Linked DNA regions of Homo sapiens: regions 1 and 3 are each linked to region 2. Evidence: promoter capture Hi-C in human tissues and cell types (Jung and others, 2019). All regions are on one chromosome and are shown on one strand. Each heading gives the region's core, a stretch centred on a gene start or on the middle of the fragment in contact. The rest is flanking DNA. Distances are from core to core; before and after follow the strand shown. Region 1 overlaps SND1 (staphylococcal nuclease and tudor domain containing 1). Region 2 holds the start of LRRC4 (leucine rich repeat containing 4). Region 3 overlaps SND1 (staphylococcal nuclease and tudor domain containing 1).

What was found. The method cuts DNA at HindIII sites, captures the fragments that hold promoters and counts their contacts. A contact is called where the count stands out against the background at its distance.
Region 1: a fragment that was not itself captured here is called in contact with the fragment with the promoter of LRRC4 in region 2 in 7 of the 25 tissues and cell types used here (H1 embryonic stem cells, dorsolateral prefrontal cortex, hippocampus and 4 more).
Region 3: a contact is called between a fragment that was not itself captured here and the fragment with the promoter of LRRC4 in region 2, in 3 of the 25 tissues and cell types used here (dorsolateral prefrontal cortex, hippocampus and pancreas).

What each region holds. Positions count from the first base shown.
Region 1 is chr7:127,958,844-127,963,461 of GRCh38, forward strand. All of the region lies in intron 15 of SND1 (staphylococcal nuclease and tudor domain containing 1), which reads left to right. Among named protein-coding and RNA genes, the nearest start is that of SND1-IT1, 36 kb to the right of the region's middle. RefSeq lists a silencer at 1,039-1,239 and enhancers at 1,136-1,215, 1,226-1,285. The HindIII fragment of the contact is 4,587 bases long and covers 837-4,618 here.
Region 2 is chr7:128,028,925-128,033,492 of GRCh38, forward strand. It overlaps LRRC4 (leucine rich repeat containing 4), which reads right to left and starts at 2,513. Exons shown (of 2, transcript NM_022143.5): 1 at 1,989-2,513; 2 at 1-1,816. The coding sequence starts at 1,716. All of the region lies in intron 16 of SND1 (staphylococcal nuclease and tudor domain containing 1), which reads left to right. RefSeq lists silencers at 2,957-3,076, 3,727-3,796. The HindIII fragment of the contact is 14,553 bases long and covers 358-4,568 here.
Region 3 is chr7:127,936,363-127,940,768 of GRCh38, forward strand. All of the region lies in intron 15 of SND1 (staphylococcal nuclease and tudor domain containing 1), which reads left to right. Among named protein-coding and RNA genes, the nearest start is that of SND1-IT1, 59 kb to the right of the region's middle. The HindIII fragment of the contact is 3,683 bases long and covers 1,002-4,406 here.

The sequences.
Region 1 (4,618 bases), core at 1,880-4,379, 69 kb before region 2:
GACTTCTCTGTCCCCTGAATTTTCTGCACACATAGAAAGTGTCACCTGAGATGAGAGTTGAGGGTACAGGGATGATGAGAGCATGCAGCATGCTGGCGGGTTCACTGATTGCTGCTCTTATTATGGTTCTAAGGCAGTGTTAAATTAGCCAATTAATAAAAATGAACACACCATTGGAAGCTACATTTGTGTGGGGTTTTTTGTTGTTGTTATTAAACTGGCTAATTTAACACCATCCTAGAGTGGTAGTGATGGTAATAGCAGCAGCCCACGAGTTCAGAAGAAGGTGGGGGTGATTCCCTCCCAAGCTTTCCCAGGCATTGCTGTGTGCTCTATGTCTTTACTCTGTGAGGAAACGGGATAAACAATAGCTAGACGTCCGCTGGCAGTCTTGGGACTCTGCAGTGTGCTAGCCAGATCCCTATCATCATGGCTATACCACTTAGGAGTGTTTCCCTGGCAGACTGCATTGCAGTCATTTTTATATACACATTCCTACACATGTAGCTGTCTATGTATGTCTTCATCCCTGGGTACCATTCTATTCTAACAGTGGCTTTCCATTTGACTCAGAGTGCAAGCTGGGTTCTTACTGTGGCCTGGAAGTGTGGCCTGTCTTCCCTGTGTTTTGTTTCCTCTCTCTGACCTCATCTCCTGCTCTTCCCACTTCACTGCCTCTACTCCTGTGTTGGGGCCTTTGCACTCTCTTCTGGATATCCTTAGGTTCAGTCCTTCTACTACTTCAGATCTTTGGTCAAATGCTACTTTCTCAATAAATGTTTCTCCAACCGTCCTCTTTAAAATCGCAAAACTACCCCATTCCCTCTCCCTCTTCCATAGCACTGTCACCATCCAACATGGTATGCATTTTACTGGCTTGTCTGTCTCTCTCCACCAGGATGTTAAATTGCGAGAAGGTGAGGATTTTGGTCTGTTTTGTTCATTGCTATGTATATCTCCCCAGCATGTAGAACAATGCCTGGCACATGGTAGGCACTTGATACATATTTGTTGAATGAATTGGCTCTAGTAGCCATGGTATTCCCCTATGATATGGAAATCTATGTTGTATCAGTTTTCATTTCACTCATTACTGGGTAAACATCACCCAGCAGAAGAGTTCATTGATGTTCCCTCTGGTTCCCCTGTTGCCTCTCGTCTGCTATCTATTCTTGCCCAGGTGGAAAAGAAGGAAGTGGAAACAGATCTGTTCTTCTAGCTGCTGGCCATTCGTCTCTGGAACTTACCGGGTGGCAAGACCAATCTAGCAGCACCTCTGCTTCTGTCGCTGCTTTCCCAGGCTCACATTACAATATCTAGGCCAATATTATCATTGCTGTCACAGACACCCTGTTTTTCTTAAGCTTCTAAAATGGATTCTCATTGCTAATTTCCTAGCACGATGGTGGGCATAGGCAGTACCTAAGACAGATAGTAAGTGCATCGTGTGGGACTACCCGCATTCACTTTATTGGTCCTTCCTCACTAAATGCCATTAGCAGCACACCGTCCCACCCCAGCTATTGCCACAACCAAAAATGACACCCAGCCCACACAAAACGTACACATTAGAAAACACTCTTTGGAGGTTGATACTGTTCCTCCTTGCAGATCTCCAATCTCTGGTAGAAGAAAGCAAGCATTGAATTACAGTCATCTAGAAAAGGGTGGAGTGCAGAAGTTTTGCTGAGCATTGAGTCTCCACCTGAGGTTAAGTAATGATGAATAATTAATAAAGTGCAATCAGCCTGGTTATATGAGGTTCTCCATTCAGCTATATTCTGTAGCCCTAGGCTTATCAGTAGCTGAGAAAATAGACATTAAATCTGTATCCACCATGATTCCTTTGTGTTGATGTAGGAAGAACAAATGGACCAGGTTGCAATCTATATTCAGATCTTCCCTGTGTTGTATTTTAGGAGAGAGATTAGGACCAGACTGAGAGTCTTTAAGGGATTATATCAGGTGCTGCAGTGCTACAGTGAAATTGAAATGAAAACTCAACTTCTGTGAGTTTCAATACTATTCTGCCAGCTGCCCAGAAACATCCTGGGATAAAGCTTAGGGGAATCCCAAGAGAAGTTTGGTCTTGGGAGAAGAATTTTTTAGTACCAAATGTGTCCATTCCTCTCCACCTGGACTTGGGAGGTGTAGGCACATCTCTGGCAGAGGGTGCCTCAAACCCTAACAAAGTCAGCTTTCCTTCTTCCTGCCAAGAGAGGGCATTAATTAAATACAGCCCTATCATTTTGGACAGTGTAAATTCACTCGTATGTGGGTCCACTGTATGTTTTTCCACAGCCCTAGCATTTTATCCTGATTGTTACTAAATGTATAAATAATGTAAAATATATACACACCTGCTTCACAAAATTAAAACTACAATACTTGGTTAACTTAGGAAGATCTAGTTGTAATATATTACATAAGTGTATTTTCTAAAAGAATCAATGAGGATTTTTTTCATACAGTAACTACAAATGGTGTTTACTTACATATTTTCTTCTTTACAAATAAAGCTGTATGATAGTAAGATCTAGATCCAGGCATCTTTATTCCGAGCCACTTGAAAAGCAAGCTGAAACTTGAGAACAGAAGAAACCTTAGGATGATAGCACAACAAATAAAATTAAATTCTTTGATTAAGTGTTTGCCACTGTAAAAAACACGTGCAAAAGCACTCATTTTCAAGAGAGGAGGGAAGAAAGCAGAACCTAAACCCAAAACAACCAAAATTTAAATACTACTTTTGCCATGTGAAATTGTCTAATCAGCCTCATTTTCTTCTATTGCCGTCATCAGCTTCTGTTTGTTCTGATGCTTCATTTTTAGTATCGTTGTGGGCTTATGAAAGCAGAAAGATTGCCTGAGTTGGAACAAGCTTTTCTACCATTTCCTATGTGTCCATTCTCAACCAGAATAAATCAGTGCAAATGCCAGTGTCCACTCCCTCGCCAGACCTTTGAGACCTAGTTGGAAGAAAAAGGGTATATTTTATCAAGCTACGTGAAAATCAACAGGACACCCTCCTGCAACAACAGAGTTGCCCTTTGTTGGCCGAAGCGCCTCTTATCATTACCTGTGAGAGCTGATTGGCCTGAATGCTCTCAGCACCTGCCCTGTGCATCACGTGATCGGATCCTATAAGTATCCTAAGATCATATTGCACAACTCTTAGAAATGAGTGAGAGAATTTAAAGGTAGAACAGCTACATTGGTACACATAATTTATGCCTTTTCTTGAGGTTACTAAAAAGAAAAAGTATTCCAGAGAGTTCTAATATAAAGCTGAGGAACTCTTTGTATAAGGGAGTATGATGTGTTCTCTCTCTGCTTGGAATTGCTGTGCTGGAAGGAAGATGGGGAAAGGGAATGAATATAGTCAAATAAATTAAGCCTTGAAACCCAAATAGTGCTGTGTAAGCAAACTGACTGCAAATCAAACAGAGGAGTGTTAGCAAAAGAATACACGATCTTGGTTGAGGCTGAACAAAACCAGGTTCTTTGTATATACGTATATATTTCTCTGGACGTGTGCAGAGTTGTTGCATTTCTACTCCCTTAATCTCAGACATCTTTGGCAAAATGTGTTATCTGTCCATGAAGAAGAAAACTGAAGAGTGTATTTCCCCCAAATGGCAAAGCGTAGGCTTTATCAAATGTAGACATGCCTGTTGGCAACAGAAAGCAGGATGTGTATGGCTTTTCTGTCTTTAGGAATGCCCATGTTTCCTATGTTTCTTACCATTTTTCTGGCTAGCATATAAATCTGAAAGGTTAGGTTATGGTGTGGGTCATAACCATCAGGCCCAGTCTATTCTCCATCCCCACTCTGCAGGCAGCTCTGACACTATTTCTGGAGCAAGCATTGAAAACTATCCGACTGTCTGGTTTTGTAGATGAGGAAACAGCACAAAGAAATGGAGTGGCATTGTCATAGTTACAGACTGTGTGAGTGGCAAAACAGAGGCTTCATCCACTGGACTTTCAGCTCTACAACTTGCAATCAGGCATAACATGTTCTTAACTTGCCTTTTTGAAATGACACCTCTCTGAGCCAAAGCTTCTCTAAGCATCAGTTCAAATGACTCCATGATCTCTTAGAGTCTGTAAAAAACTTGAGAGTAGAACATATTTTCTTCCTTCTTAGAACCTCAAGTCAAATCAACAATTACTTTATATTTATTGTGATGATCGCATTCTGTTTGATCTATTTTTCTCTAAGTTGTTAAACAGCCTTTGGCTAAAATCATTATGTTCTGACCTGAACAAGGAGATTGGGGCAGCTCTATTCTAAGCTGTGTGAAAATGCAAAGCATGGGCAGGGTGCAGCAAGTTGTTCACTTTGGATGGAATGTGGATGGTGGCTGAGTACCCAGAGATAAGACTAGAGCGGCATATTTCTTTTCTTTTTTTTTTTTTAATTATACTTTAAGTTTTAGGGTACATGTGCACATTGTGCAGGTTAGTTACATATGTATACATGTGCCATGCTGGTGCGCTGCACCCACTAACTCGTCATCTAGCATTAGGTATATCTCCCAATGCTATCCCTCCCCCCTCCCCGCCGCCACCACAGTCCCCAGAGTGTGATATTCCCCTTCCTGTGTCCATGTGA
Region 2 (4,568 bases), core at 1,263-3,762:
GTCCACCTGGATTATCTCAACAGTCCGGGCGGCTGTGACTGTACTCCGCTGCTGGTGCCGCTTACGAAGTTTATAGAAGACAATCAACATGGCGGCAGCTAGCAGAGTCACTGCCACAAAGCAGCCAATGATGATCTTGGTGGTCTTCATGACTTCATCCAGGCTGGTCTGCATCTTGTCAGTGGTGTCTGTCGCGGGTACTGCCACCTGCTTGGGCACACGGGTAGTCTGAATGAGCACCGTGGTAGAGGTGGTATATGCCGGCTGGTAACCAGTGGACGTGGTAGGAACAGGCTTGTACTTTCGCGTTGTGTCCTCAGGCGAGATCTCCGTGGTCTCCACTGTTACTGTGGTGAAGAAGCTGTAGTTGGAGGTGTTAAGCTCAGCCGTGCTCACATTGAGGTAGGCCGAGGCGTTGGAGTTGCCTGCAACATTGGTCACCATGCATGTGTACACCCCAGTGTCTGAAAGCAGCACGTGGGAAAAGTTCAAGGTGCCGTCGTTGAGGACAGAGATCCTTGGGTGGCGGGAGGCGTGGCTGAGCACTGTCCCATTGGGCAGCAACCACTTCACGGAGGACATAGGGGGAGTCCGACACTTAAGTTCTGCCATCCGACCCTCAGAAATGTTGAGGTCTCGAGGTGCGTCCATGATGAAGGGGGCAGAGCACTGGAAGGAGGCCTGGTCCACCTCCACGAGGTAGCGGCCTCGCATGTGCATGGGAGCATGACAGCGGCCACAGCAGGTGGAATTGGTGGGTATATACTCTCGAAGCCACCAGGCTAGCCACAGAATGTCACAATCACAGTTCCAAGGGTTGTGGTGTAGATGCAACTCCACCAGGTACCTCAGCGGGGTAAAGAGGTCATGGGGCAAAGAAGAGAGGTTATTGTGGGCCAAGTTGAGTTCCACAAGTGAAGCCAGCCCGTCAAAAGCATTCCGCTCAATCAGGCTGACCTGTGAGTTCATGACCCAGAGCTTCTTGAGGGAGCTCAGGCCATGGAAGGAGCCAGGCCTGATCTCAGGGAAGTGGTTCCCTGACATCTCCAGCTCCTCCAGCCCCACCAGGGGGGTGAGATTGGGCATGTCTTTAATGTTGCACATGCCCAAGTTCAGATACTTGAGGTTGAACAGCCCCTCAAAAGCTCCCTCAGAGATATACTCCAGCTTCTTGAGCTCCCCCAAGTCCAGGCGCATGAGGGAGGGCACCCGGTTGAAGGCGTAAGAGGGGATGCTTTCGATGGGGTTGTTGCGAAGCCAGAGCTCCCGCAGCTTGGACAGGTATTCAAAGGCCCCGCTAGGGATGACTGTCAGCCAGTTGTCGAACAGCTCCAGGGTGTTGAGGCTGGCCAGGCCGTTGAAGGCCCCCACCTCAATCTGCCGGATGGAGTTCCTGCCCAACTGCAGGACCTCCAGGTGGTGGAGGTGGCGGAAGGTGTCGGCCTGGATCATCTGGATGTTGTTCTCCATGAGGTTGAGGTACCGGGTGTTCGAGGGAATACCCTGCGGGACCTCGGAGAGGCCCCGGCGCGTGCACACCACCTTGCTGAACTGGTTACTGCACGAGCAGACGGAGGGGCAGTTCTGGGGCCCGGCTGAGGCGGCAGCAGCGATGGCTGCACACAGAATCCACACTTGCGCCGTGAGGTAGACGAACGGGAGCAGGATGGCATTCCAGGTGTGGTGGTGCACAGTTACCTGCCACAAGAGCTTCATGGTGTGGCACGTTCATAATTCACCATCGCCTGGGATTTTGGCTCGGAAAGGAGAACCAGCCCTACCCCGGCTTAAGTGAGCTAGGAGCTCCTCTTTCCATCTGGAGAAGGAGGTGGGGAGGGGGCGATTAGAGAGACGGAGCGGATCGGCCGAAAAAAATCCTGCCAAACTCGAGCGGCCCCTGGTCTCCCAACCCACCCTCAAGGCAAGCCCTCCGAAAGCTACGACTCTCCCACACTGCAACCGTCCCCACCCAGTTCGCCGTCACCTACCTCGGAAGGAAGGCAGGAAAGCACTGGCGTGGTGTCCTTAAGCTTTCTCCACGGGAGCTGGGCACCTCGTTCCCATTCCGACTTCTTAGTTTTAATTAACAAAAGGGGGAAGTGGTGGGGGCGGGGAGGGCAGAGGGGAGGGGAGGGGAGGGGAGGGAAGGGGTGGGGGAGACAAAATGGCCTCTAGTAAATCCGGAGCCGGAGCCGGCGAAGCCGCGGAGTTGAGGCGCGCCTGGGAGAGCCAAGGCCCGGCGGGCTATGCAGGTGCATGCCCCCCCCTCCGCCCAAGGAGCGGCGCCACCAGCGCTTCCCGGCTTTGTCCTTGGACCCTGGCACCGGCTCGCTCCAGCCGCGGGGGAAGGCGCTTCATCGCCAAAGTGCGCTCCGGCGGCCCCGGCCCGCTCTGCGGGCCGCCGCCGGAGGGAGTGCGGGGGCGCCCCGAAGCCGCCCAGGCCGCACTCGCTGGATGCTGCGCTCCCTCTCCCGGCGTCGGCCGCTCCGGGCCGGCGGCAGCTGATTGCGGTCGTGAGCTCGCGGAGCGGCGAGAGTTAAGAGGAGGTGTTCGCGGCGCCTTCGCCCTCCCCAGACACACACCCCCTTTCTCCTCGCCTCTTCTCGGAGGGTGGAAGAGACAAAAACGGGGGGTCAGTTCTCCAGTCCGCCGGCTGCCGGCACGCGGGGCGGCGCTCCGTCCGGCCCCCGAGGACCAGCGGCGTGGCGGCTGCGCTCGGACCCGGTCCGCCGGCCGGAGGAGCGCGCGGCGCCCGCGGTCGCGCCCGCACCGCAGGCCCCTTCAGAGAGTCCGGGGGCGGGCGCGGGTCCGGCGGCGGCGGCGGCCGCAGCCCCCGGCGGCGCGCAACCGCCCGTCGCCGCCCGCCGCTGCCCGGCCCCCGGCGCGCCGCCGGCTCCGGCTTTGTGCGGAGGGAGCGAGTTCGCGGCTTCGGCTCCCGGCGCCCTCAGTGGCCGCGCCGCCAGCGGACTGCTGCAGCGGCGTGAGCAGCGGGGGTCGCGGCTGCGGGAAACGCTCCGGAGCCCAGGAACATAGTCCCCGCTGGCTAGCGGCGGCAGCAGCAGCAGCGGGGCCCCTGCGCGCGGCGCCCACCGTCTCCTCCTCGCGCCGGGCTCGCGGTGTTGCAGGCGGCAGCCACGCAGACTGCTCTCTCATCCTTTTGTCCTTCAGTCAGAACGTGAATGTACTGCTGACGCATACTGTTCTGGGAGAAGATTAGCGTGATGCAGTGCTCTTATGTATTAGCGCCGCTCCCCCTCCGTCGCCTGCCTCGCGGGGTTAACGCCGGCGCCTTCCAGCGCCGCGCCGGCCGGCGCCGCGCAGCCCCGCGCCTCCGGCCGCCCGTCTTCCTCTTTCCTCCTTCCTTCCTCCTCTCTTCCTCTCTCCCCCTCCCCCCTCCCCCCTCCCCGGGCCGCTTCCTCCCCGCCCCCTCTAGACGAGCGGAGCGGGGCCAGGGCGAGCGGGCGAGCGAGCCGGAGTGAGCGTCAAGTGAGGGGCCGCGCGCAAGTCGCAGGCGTTCGCAGCTATTTTGGGCCGGTCGGAGGGAGCAGTTGGGTGGCCGCTGATAGGCTGGAGCGGCGCGGGGCTGCGGCGGGAGAGCCCGCGCCGGCCCCCGCCCTCCGGCCCGCACCCGGGGCCCCCTGGCTCTGAAGAGCGGGGCTCAGGGGCCCGGCGGCCCGCGGCGGGGCTGCTGCATTTGGCCTGCCTCTCGCCCGGCCCGCGTCATCCTCACCCCCGCTGACTGCTGACGGGGCGCGGACTCGCGTTCGGAGTTCGGAACTGCGTGGTGGGGACTCGGGGGACGGCGGCCGGGGCCACGAGGCTCCCAGGACCGAGAGCCCGGGCTTCGCTGCTGCACTGCCGCCAGCCCCTCCTTCGCTTTGCCTCACCCCTCCTGTGCTCTCACTGGGGCTTTAAATGAGGGTTTCCTTAATGAGGGTTGCGGGGGCGGGAAACAGTGGCAGGAATGACCAAGTGTGATGAGCTGGGGAATGGCAACCTGGGACAGCACAGAGGCCGGCAGGAAGGATTGAGGTGAACTCCCGGAGCCCACGACACAGCCCGTTCATTCATGGAGCTGCAGCCGCGGCTTCTCAGTCTTCGCTGGCCGGAGTCGCCCCTTGCTCCCCGCTGCCCCCAGAGAACTGGGGGAAGGGAGGCGGGCGGCTGAGCCCCCTGCCCTGTGAGCTCGCCAGCCCTTCCTTGGCTAGGACTCTGAGAAGAACTGCGTAGCAGCCAGGGGTAGCGATTGGGAGTGGGGGTGGAATTCTTGCTCCTATTTCTGGTAGGAGACCCTAAGGCATTTGACAGACTAGTGTAGGAGAAGGGGACTAGGTCAGCTTTTTCCCACCCCCCTGAAAAAAGACTGCCCCTTTCTCTGCCGACTGTGGGTGAGGCAATCTAGCTGAGCCCTGGGAAGCCGGTCCAGTAGAATATAGCATGGTTTAATATCCCTTCCCTTCAAGAGCTGCCTCCAGACTCCTCAACCCACCCCTCTCCCCGTGTGATTTCTGGCAGGCTCGCTTGATAAACCCTCATCACCTGCGCGTGGGCTGTTGCTTAAGAACGAG
Region 3 (4,406 bases), core at 1,593-4,092, 92 kb before region 2:
CCTTTAGTGAGCCCCACACGTTTCCTTCCATGAGAGCAAAAGTGGTTCACGCAGTTTTTATTTTCACTTGTCATGTGTGTCCCATTTTACTTTAGTATTTTGTCTAGGGGGAGATTGAGTCACATATTTGGAAATTATTTGGCTCTCAAGTCATGCTTTTATTTTTTACTTTCTTTTTCTTTTTTCTCTTGTTTCTTTTCTTGGAGACAGGGTCTTACTCTGTTGCCCAGGCTACAGTGCAGTGGCCCCATCATAGCTCACTGTAATCTCGAACTCCTGGGCTCAAGTAATCCTCCCTCAGATCCTGAGTATCTGAGACAGCAGGTGCATGCCACCACACCTGGCTAATATTGTTTTATTTTTTGTAGAGACAGGGTCTCAACTGTGTTGCCCAGGCTGGTCTTAGGGTCCTGGCCTCAAGCAGTCCTCTTGCCTTAGTCTCCCAAAGTGCTAGGATTATAAGCATGAACCATGACACATGGCCTCACATTTTTACCTAAAAGCCCCCAGTGGGTGTGGAGTATTTGTCTTATTACTATGAACTTTATATTGAGTGTCCTTATTGTAATTCCCTTATTAGATCTTAGGTATCAGGGTCATGCTGCAGGCACAGTTCAGGAAGTGGCCCTGTTGGATGAGCATAGCAGGTATCAAGGCATGGTGCCTGTAAACCAAATACTTTTCTCCTGAATTGGAAGAGAATAATAATTTGAGATTTCAGTGCAAAGTGATCTAAGGAGCCTTATATCAGATATTTGGAGTCTTCTGTCAACTCACTGAGTGAGTCCACCATGCCGTGTTTGCATTTCCTTAGTGTTAAAGGTGGTACCGCAGTAAGTTTGAGGAATTACAGGGTGAGGCAGGCAGGAAATGGATGCCAGTCACCTTGCATGGAACTCATAGTACAAACCATCTAGAAGGCAGCAGCCACTTGGCAGGGAGTTCCCATGTGGATCACAGCAGGTGACTTATAATTAACCAGTTACCTATTCATATGAAATAAGACAAGAAAATGAGACTTCCCTTTTCCTGCCCTTTAGCATTTTTCTTTCCCTCCCCCTTCCTCTCTTTCCGTCTCCCAACCCTTCTCCCTTCTCCTCTCCCTCTCCCTCCCCCTGTCCCTTCTCCTCTCTCTCTCCCTCTCCCTCCCTTTCTGGAGCTGGATTATGACAAAGGAGGCATTGAGAAAAGTTCTAAGTGTCTAGGATTTGATAAATGGTGGTGGGCTTGTGCATGGTGAACTAAAGGTTTGGCTGTGTGTCCTTTCACCCTGAATGCCTTTGAATGAAGTTCCTCATTTCCTTCTTTTCCTTTAAGATCTCTTCTCTAGCCAATCCTCATTGGAATATCAACTGCCTGTTTCAATAGACCAAAAACTTCTAATGAGAGGAGGGAAGGGAAGGTGAACAGGAATATCCTTCTCATCTCCTGGTCCCAGGAATGGTGGATCCCCATTGATTACCAGTGCCTAACTAAATTACACAATTAAAGCCAATGTATGTTTAAGTGAGAAATCCCATTCTGCTATCACAGAGGTGCTAATGAATCAGGCTGTTATTGTGGTTGTGTTTGCTAGGCTTCTATCCTTAATTAAGCAATTACAGGGTCTGCTGATACTTATGAATTCCTTTCAGATGCTTTAATTGAATTGCAACTTAATGGATATTTGTAAAGTGGGGTATTCTTTCTCTTGGGATATCCCAGTTTGATTCTGTCTCCATTGCCTACTTTCTGTTGGGTCCCATTACTAGAAATGGGCAGCTTAACATGAGACTTTCCTGGAGCTGCTCTAGTTCTTTACTTTTAAAGATATCATTATAGGAATTATAAGAATTATGTTCATGTCCGGGGATCCTGGAGAGTCACTTACAGGAAAGAATTAACACAATGAACAGATTTGGGTAGTGTTTTTTAATGAGTACAAGATTTTTACAAGCACAGATTAAGAAAAGTAGTCTTCAATAGATAAATTTTGGATGATACATAAATTAGTAGGATAACTTCTCCCTCGAATATCTTTTAGTCTAGTTATGTAGATGGCCATACAAATAATGTAAACAAGGAAATATGAAAGAGCAGTTATCAAAAGCATAGGCCACCTAGTATGAGAATACAGAGCAAATAACAATTGTTGAATGGAAAAGTTTTCCTCAGGGCGATGGCATTTGAGTTTCCGAGAAGATCTGCTACATTTTCTTTGGGCAGACTGGGTTTGATTCATCTAGGCAGAAGAAGTTGGCCTGTATCAGATCTCAGGAAGAGTTGCCTAAAAGAAATGGACATATTAATCAATCATTTTTCTCTCCGCTTTTGTATTGGTGTGTAAATCTCCCTCTTAGCTCTTCTGCTATTGAGCCTTCACTGCTCCACCTTCAGCTCTCCGTCTATGCAGGCACACTGTCACCCACTGGTCATGTGAATGAAACCTCCAATTACACCAGGATTATTTTCATCTTTACACCATGAATCATCCCCAGAATGAGCCTCATCATACTTGTGGGTCATTCAATTACATGGTTATTTAATAATTTTTTTTTATATTCAGTGGGCACAATGCTAGGAATACAGAAATGGATGATACAGTTCCAGCCTTTGAGCAAAGTAATTGTGTCTACTGGAGTAAAGAATGTATTGACATGAAGAAAAAAATATTTTAAAAGCATAAGGGTAAGCAAAACATGGCTTAAATACTATACAAATGAGAACAGCTCAGATTTTATAAAACAATAAGAGTAAATATGTAACTGCTGTCAAAAAGGCTGTTTCAAAACTCGGAAATACAGAACGCAGAGAGGAGTGGAGCCAGGTACTGACCCAGCCCAAGTCATTGCATTCCTGGTGGTACGGTGTACCATCTGAGGACCATCCTTTTAGGAAGGACATCAGGAAACTGCAGGTGGTCAGATCAGAGGAGGATGAACAAAGATGCTAAGAGCCTCAGCATGCCAATACCTGAAGATTGGGAGTAGGAATTAAAAGACAGACTTCCATGACATAATCTAGTGTTTCAGGGTAAAAGAGAGAGAAACATGATTTGTTCAGTACCCATTCCAGAGTAATAAATAAAGTCATCACTAAAAATAAGATTTGTTTGGCCTGGTTTAATGGCAGTCACAGACCTTGGAGCTAAAACACTTAAAGATGAATTCTTGCCCTCCTGCTTCCTAATTAATTATTTCCGTCAGACTGGCCTGCTTATCTTGGTGTGATGCTGGTGACCTGGAGGTGAGGGAGACAGCAAGGCCGATGTGGCATTTATGTGCCAGCCTATCTAGGGCCTCCTATAACTAGCAAAAGATAGTCCTAGTGGTGTCATCGCCTTCTATGGAGTCAGACTGTGGAGGATGGTGTGGCCTCCTGATTGGGGTGTTCAGCCCTTACCATCTACTGGGTTTTATGTGCCAAGAAAAGATAGATGTTGATTTACCCTTGCTGTTAGATGATAGGCCTGTGGATTAGCTTTGGATGGGTAGGTCAGTGAGGAGTTTCCTTCCTCCTGAATTCTCTGACTAGTGTTTCTACTCTTCTACTCTAAAGCGTTCTATTGTGCTTTTTACTCTTATGCTTTCATGTTTTAATACTGATGAGACAAGGGGAGAAAACATCCTGGATAGAAAATGAGGCCTGTCCTATGCAGAGCTAATGAGGCCAGTGGAGTAGTAGAGAAGGTCAGTCCTGTGAGCTTTTCCCTAGGTGTTCCTTTTCGGGCCCTTCTCCTTCCCTCCTACTTTAAAGCGCGTTCTGTCTGAGTCTATGCAGGGTTGTCTGGCTTGCCTTCCACCTGGTGGGCACTGGGGGATGGAATGGGAAACTTCCAGAAATCTGATGGCTTTTCTCTGTTGGATTATTTCCAAAAACAGCACCTGTCTCGTTGGTTGTGCCTAAATGCCTCAGTTCTAAGTCCCTTCTTGTGGCTTTCCCAGAGGAATACATTTCAGTGTAGATTATTCAACACTATCTTGTCAACCTGTGGGCATTTCCCAGCAGCCACTTAGTAGTAATGTTGACAAGCTACTGTGCTACTCACCAGAACTCCAGCCCTGTGGGGGAGTCCATTTGGTCAGACTAATAGTAGAAAATGGCAGGACCTGGATGCAGGAGAGGGAGTGTAAATGGTTTGGTAATTTGAAATTAAAGGTTAATGCTTTGAAATCTGGTAATGGGCAGCGCCAGGGTGAACAGTGCACACTGCTGTAAGACTTAATCCTGGTTGCTATGGAAACTACCTCACAAATCTCCCACCCCTTTCAACCAGATTTGACTGGGTTTAAAAAATAAATAAATAAAACCATTCTTCATCATTGAAAAGCTGTTTGCCCCCTTCCCCAAACTCCAGGTCATTGCTCACCTTGAGTTTCTTTCAAAAGTTTTTCTGAGGCTTCCCCAGTCAGATGGGCTGGATCTGT